Regions from separate parts of the Homo sapiens genome. Here region 2 is linked to region 1. The links are contacts of gene promoters, found by promoter capture Hi-C in human tissues and cell types (Jung and others, 2019). All regions are on one chromosome and are shown on one strand. The core of a region is centred on a gene start or on the middle of the fragment in contact, and the rest is flanking DNA. Distances in the headings are between cores, read along the strand shown. Region 1 holds the start of CCL25 (C-C motif chemokine ligand 25). Region 2 holds the start of LOC107985282 (a long non-coding RNA gene).

Region 1 (3,180 bases), core at 383-2,882:
GGGTCCTGCTGCCCCAGGGAAAGAAGACATGCCTTCTCCCATCCTGGCTAACATGGTGAAACCCCGTCTCTACTAAAAATACAAAAAATTAGCCAGGCGTGGTGGCGGGAGCCTGTAGTCCCAGCTACTCGGGAGGCTGAGGCAGGAGAATGGCGTGAACCCGGGAGACGGAGCTTGCAGTGAGCCGAGACAGCGCCACCGCACTCCAGCCTGGGCAAAAGAGCAAGACTCCGTCTCAGAAGAAAAAAAAAAAAGACATGCCTTCTCGGTGAATGTTGCTTTGCTTCCTGAGGGCATGGCTACCCGGGGCTCCTGGCTTTTCTTCCAAAAACAAAACATTTCTTCCATTTTTTCTTTTTCTTTTGTTTTTTTTTTTTTTTTTTTTTTTGAGACAGAGTTTCACTCTTGTCGCCCAGGCTGGAATGCAGTGGCCCAATCTCGGCTCACTGCAACCTCCGCCTCCCGGGTTCAAGCGATTCTCCTGCCTCAGCCTCCTGAGTAGCTGGAATTACAGGTGCCCCCCCACCACACTCGGCTAATTTTTGTAATTTTAGTAGAGATGGGGTTTTGCCATGTTGGCCAGGCTGGTCTCGAACTCCTGACCTCAGAGGATCCGCCTGCCTCGGCCTCCCAAAGTGCTGGTATTACAGGTGTGAGCCACTGTGTCCGGCCACCGTTTTTTTTTCCATTTTTTGAGACAGGGTCTTGCTCTGTTGCCCAGGCTGGAGTGCAGTGGCATGATCACAGCTCACTGCAGCCTCAACCTCCAAGGCTCAAGCAATCCTCACACCTCAGCCTCCTGAGTGGCTGGGACTACAGGTATGCACTACTACGTCAGGCTAATTTTTTAAAAAATTTTTGTAGTGACGCAGGTCTCTCTATATTGCCCGGGGTGGTCTTGAGCTCCTGGGCTCAAGCAATCCTCTGGCCTCGGCCTCCCAAAGTGTTGGGCTTACAGACATGAGCCACCATGCCTGGCCTAGAGAGTTTCTTTCTTGTTGGGGTTGTTCACCGGTGGGAGGTGCACCATTGTGCCGTGCTGACTATATTCATAGAGTTATGTAACCATCACTCTCATCTAATTTCAGAACAAAAGGAAACCCATACCCTCTCACAGTCAGTCCTTCATTCTCCCCTCCCCCCATCCTGTGGCCACCGCTAATTTACTTTCTGTTTCTATGGATTTGCCTGTGATCACAACCAGAGGATTTCTGTGACATGCTAAGTTACCTAACCATGGTGTGGAAGGAGAGGGAAATGGAGTGAAGTTGGGGACCCACCAGGGAACAGGTGGCTTGAGGGCGGGGGGAGCATGAAGGTAAGGGCTTGTTTGGGGGCTCAAGGCAGTCTGAGCCTTGTTCGCAGGCAGCCAGTGTCCACCAGGTGTGTGCAGGTGAGGGAAACAGGGGAAAAGGCCCTTTCTGGAGACAGTAGGGGTGCTGGCTGGGAGGCCTGGGATGGGGAGTGGGGAGGCAAGGGGGCCTGTGGGTCGAGGTTGGAGCTTGCTGTAGAAGAGGGAGAATTCCAGAGGCTGAGAGTGCAGGTGGAGAGGAGGAGGAAGGGAGGAGGGCGGGCAGGGGGTGGCTGGGTGGGGCTCTGTCTATAAAGAGTGAAGCTCAGCGTGTTGGTCCTGCAGATGGGACAGCTTGGCCTACAGCCCGGCGGGCATCAGCTCCCTTGACCCAGTGGATATCGGTGAGTCTTTTCCTTGAACATGACTGAGATGAACAGCTTTTCCCTCCAGCACAACTTGTTCCTACTTTATACAACCTCCTTCCCTTGCCATATGCCTGGGGCTTAAGAGGGGGGATGTTCCCAGTACCCACTCCCCTCCTCTTCCTCAGTCCTTACCACTTCCCTCCACGACCCCAGGTGGCCCCGTTATTCGTCCAGGTGCCCAGGGAGGAGGACCCGCCTGCAGCATGAACCTGTGGCTCCTGGCCTGCCTGGTGGCCGGCTTCCTGGGAGCCTGGGCCCCCGCTGTCCACACCCAAGGTACTGTGTTCGGCAATGCCTACCACCAAGTGCCCCTCTCCCCATGCCCCCACCCCACCCCTTTTGTCTCTTATCTCCTCCGGAAGTCTCCCCAATCCCATCTCCACTGAATTCTCCCGCTCCTGACATGCAGGAACTCCTGGTGTTTGGTTAGCTCTTGGGATGGGGTCGGGGAGATGGAGAGTCCCCAGTTCCTTCTTCGAGAGCCCCATGGAGTCTTTTGCAAGACTCCTAAAGATGTGAGGGAGCAGAGGGTGGCTTCCAGCTGTGGGCAAAGCCAGTTACTGCCAGGGATGTATTGTAGAATCCTAATCCTGCCGAGCCAGGGGTGGGGTTGGAGATCAGGGCCCTGGAGACTGACAAGAGTGGATTCCCATCCTGGTCCCTCCATGCAGTCCAGCTGAGAGTTAGTTGCTCCTAAACCATTTTTTTTTTTTTTTTTTTGAGACAGAGTCTCACTCTGTCACCCTGGCTGGAGTGCAGTGGCGCGATCTTGGCTCACTGCAACCTCCGCCTCCTGGGCTCAAGCGATCCTTCTGCCTCAGCCTCCCAAGTAGCTGGGACTACAGGCGTGTGTACCATGCCCGGCTAATTTTTGTATTTTTTAGTAGAGATGGGGTTTCACTATGTTGGCCAGAGTAGTCTCGATCTCCTGATCTCAGGCGATCCGCCTGCCTCAGCCTCCCAAAGTGCTAGGATTACAGGTTTGAGCCACTGTGCCCGGCTTCCTAAACCTTTAGGAGCCTCCGTTTCCTCAGCTGCAAAGTGGGAATCTAAAATTCCCACTGCATGGCTCTGACTTGAGGGTCCAGTGAGCTCATGCCTGCAAAAGACTAGGCCTCATGTCTGGCGGCGGCAATAGTAACTGTTCCTGTTATTAATAGGGAACTCTTTCCTTCTTCCCCACTCCCTACCGCAGAGCAAGCACTTGAGGATTTCAGTCGCCAAAGGACAATTCCTGGGCCTGGGGTGTCCCCACGGGAGCCCTGACACTGGGTCCTACATCCTCTGAGTTTCAGCAGCTGGCCAAAGCAGGGTCCCTGGCTGGGCGGCAGACCCAGGGTCCCACCCTCCTTCCCTGTCTGCCCCCACCTGACCCACCTGCCCCTCGGCTGGGTCTGATGGGTCCAAGTCCTTGGCCTTTGCCTGGGAAGGGGGTTGGGCTGTGGTCTGATTGTTTTGCTA
Region 2 (3,180 bases), core at 270-2,769, 190 kb after region 1:
GGATCAGGAGACAGAATAATATGGTGGCCTCTTTGGTGGTAGTCTGAGAAGTCTTCTTGGAGGAGGTGACATTTGAGCTGAAATAAGAATGATAACACAGTCAGACATGTATGTGACTGTCTGGGGTGCAAACATGGTACAAGTGAGCTTGGTGAGTTGGAAGCCCAGCAAGCAGCAGTTGCTATGGATTAAGCTGGGGAGGCAGAGGTGGGGAGGCAGCAGGGCCAGAATGTAGAGGGCAGGAATGTGTGCAGAAATAAGGGGCTCAGGTAAGGCGGAACCTTGAACTTGGGGTCCACCTTGGGGTCTTTGGGGGGAGTGGTACCTCAACCGGCAGCATCTCTGGTCACTAACACCCTGTGGGACCTCTGCTCAGAGAGGCTCAGAGTGGAAGAGACAGGTCCGTCTGGAAGGGACAGCCAGGACCCGGTGCAGAGGCAGGCTGTGGTTATCTGCAAACAGCCCCCTTCCTTCCAGCATGTCACGTGCTCCCGCCTGAGCCTCTGGCCGCAGGAATCAGGTGACCCCAGGCAGCGGGCCAGGCTGCAGGGGCGGGTGAGTGAGTCAATGTATGCAAGTGTGTGTGTGTGTGTGTGTGTGTGTGTGTTTTCATCTCTGGGAGGCCCAGACATCTGGGGTCTGAATTAATTGCCTTTTTCACAACCATGGACAAGTCCTGTATTTCCAGCTAGATTGAAAGCAAAACAAAACAAACCTATGTGCATAGCTCTGATCTGCTGAGCAGTGCCAGGGTCCTTGGGGGTTCGGGGAAGCCGTGGGAACCAGTCCTTCTCACTCAGACCCCTGAAGAGGGGCAGGGATCCTCTACTCATGCCCCCTAACCCACCTCCCGTGTCAGTACAAAGCCCCATTCTCTCTCTTTCCCCCAATCTGGGGCTATTTTTAGCCACTAAGAAGGATTATCAGTTTGGTTCCCAGGTGGCAGGGGCCAAGCTGGGAGTGGGGCCAGGGAGGCTTCAAACAGCAGCCAGGCTTGGGGGCGGGTGGGGTGAGGGGAGAAGAGGCTGGTCACACTGGCCCTGCCACCCACGCGGTGGCTCTGCAGATGACCCTGAAGCTGCTGTCGTCCAGCCCAGCCCAAACACTTCAGCTGCAGCTTTAAGGGAAGGTGGCAGGGGCAAGGAAAGCTTCCAGCAGCCTTAGGCACCTCAGATGCTGGAAACCGTCCTAAGGGCTTGGAAGAACCATCTAGAAGCCTCCATAGGCCAGCACCCCTTCTTTCCAGACCACTCCCCATCCTGCCCCCACCTCCTGTCTAGCAGTAACTATCACAGTCTAAGCTGTTTTTTGGGGGGTTTTTTTCCGAAACAGGATCTGCTCCGTCACCCAGGCTGGAGTGCAGTGGTGTGATCACAGCTCACTGCAGCCTCAAACTCCTGGGCTCAACCAGTCCTCTCACCTCAGCCTCCTGAGTAGCCGGGATTACAGGTGTGTGTCACTATGCCCACCTAATTTTTAAATTTTTTTGTCTTGCTATGTTGCCCTGGCTGGTCTCGAACTCCTGACCTTAAGCAATCCTCCCACTTCGGCCTCTCAAAGTGCTGGGTGTGAGCCACTGCACTCGGTCCTCTAAATTTTACTAGGTGCTCACTCCACCTCAGGTGCCATTCCGAACCACTCCATGTGGAAGAGGGGCTATTGTTTGTTCCATTTTACAGATAAAACTGAGGCACAGATAGGCCACGTTCCATGCCTGGTAAACGGGTGAGGCAGGAATCAGGAATCAGATCCGTTGTGATATCAGCATGGAGTGTTTATAAACTGCCCGCCTGCCCTGAGCCTCACAATAGCCTGGTAGAACAAGGAGGGAATCTAGCTGTACCCATTTTTCAGATGGGACAACTGAGGCCCAGGAAGACAGAGGATGACAGGGAACAAACAGAAGAACTGGATCCAAAAGAGAAAAGCTAGAAATTGAGGAACACATCCCTCAGCCTCATTTCCTCCCTTCCCTCAGGAGAAGTTGAGCCTTGCTGGCCTGAGGTGCCTGGTTATAGCCATGCCTGAGCCCCTCCCATATGCCAGACTCTGCCTCAATGCCCCAGGTGCAAGGTCTCTGAGCTGCTTAACCACCCTTCAGGGAGGGCACCTGTCCCACCAACAGGTGACGAAATTGAGGCTCCCAGGGCTTTGAAGCATTGCAGCTAGGACTCCAGCCAGTCTGCTGGGCTCCAGACCCTGTTCTTTTCTCAAACCACAGCATCTTTTATTTATGCTTTAAGAGGGAGAAGAGGGAAGGGACGAGACAGAGACAGGTTGGTGAGGTTAGTGAGAGAGTAGGACCTCTGGGGCCAGACCTCTGCAATCAGGGCATATCAGTCTGAAGCCTCCTTGGAGAGCTCCCTGGTTTAGAAAGTGCATCTGTTCCCCTTTCTGTGCCACTCAGGAAGCAATGGGCATGATTCAGCAGAGGAGAGGAGAGTTTAGAACTGGTTATGCTTCCTTCTCCAACCCTCCCTGCAAAAACACTGGCCAGCTCCTGACATCACAGTAAGACAGGGTTGCGGGAGGGTGCTTTAACAGGATCCAAAGCAGGGCAATTGGGCTGCTTTCAGGAGGAGGTGACAACTGAGCTGGGTTTTGAAGGATGCATAGGAGTTTGCCAAACAGAGAAAGAAAGCGTTTAAGCTCTTCAGGGCAGAGATGTTGCTTGTTTTCCCCACCATTTTGTGTCTTCAGCACCCAAATACTAAATGAGCATTCTAGGCAGAGGCCAGTATTTGTAAAGGCTAGGATGTGTGAAACGATATGGTCTGGTGGGAGCAGAGTATCAGTCAGTAAACTGGTGGGCATTGAAGCTGGGCACATCAGCAGAGGCAAGGCTTGAGATTGTGAGAAGCCATTGCTCCTGTGGTTCTCCCTCATCCCCTACACTCATCATGACTTGAATGTACCAAGGTGTGCAAGGATGCATCCAAGACCCTTGGGTGAGGGGAAAACATGGAGCTGGGGGTCTGGATGCCTGGGCCTTCCTAGGACACCTAGTCCCCTTCCATCTGCACCTTGGGGTCTGTCAGAAAGGTAGCAGGGTCTCTGAGAAAGCTGCACCAGTGACTCAGAAGGCTGAGGTGGGAGGATGGCTTGAACCCAGGAGTTTGAGGCTGCAGTGAGCTATGATCAGGCCAGTGCACTCCAGTCTGGGTGACAAAGTGAGACCCT

What was found. Contacts are between HindIII fragments. The study calls those that stand out against the background at their distance.
Region 2: a contact is called between a fragment that was not itself captured here and the fragment with the promoter of CCL25 in region 1, in 1 of the 25 tissues and cell types used here (mesenchymal stem cells).

Annotation. Positions count from the first base shown.
Region 1 is chr19:8,051,128-8,054,307 of GRCh38, forward strand. It overlaps CCL25 (C-C motif chemokine ligand 25), which reads left to right and starts at 1,633. Exons shown (of 6, transcript NM_005624.4): 1 at 1,633-1,695; 2 at 1,873-1,995. The coding sequence starts at 1,923. The HindIII fragment of the contact is 31,009 bases long and covers 1-3,180 here.
Region 2 is chr19:8,240,009-8,243,188 of GRCh38, forward strand. The region is part of intron 2 of CERS4 (ceramide synthase 4); the gene reads left to right. It overlaps LOC107985282 (a long non-coding RNA gene), which reads right to left and starts at 486. Exons shown (of 2, transcript XR_001753859.2): 1 at 326-486; 2 at 1-77. RefSeq lists a silencer at 508-557. The HindIII fragment of the contact is 3,994 bases long and covers 1-3,180 here.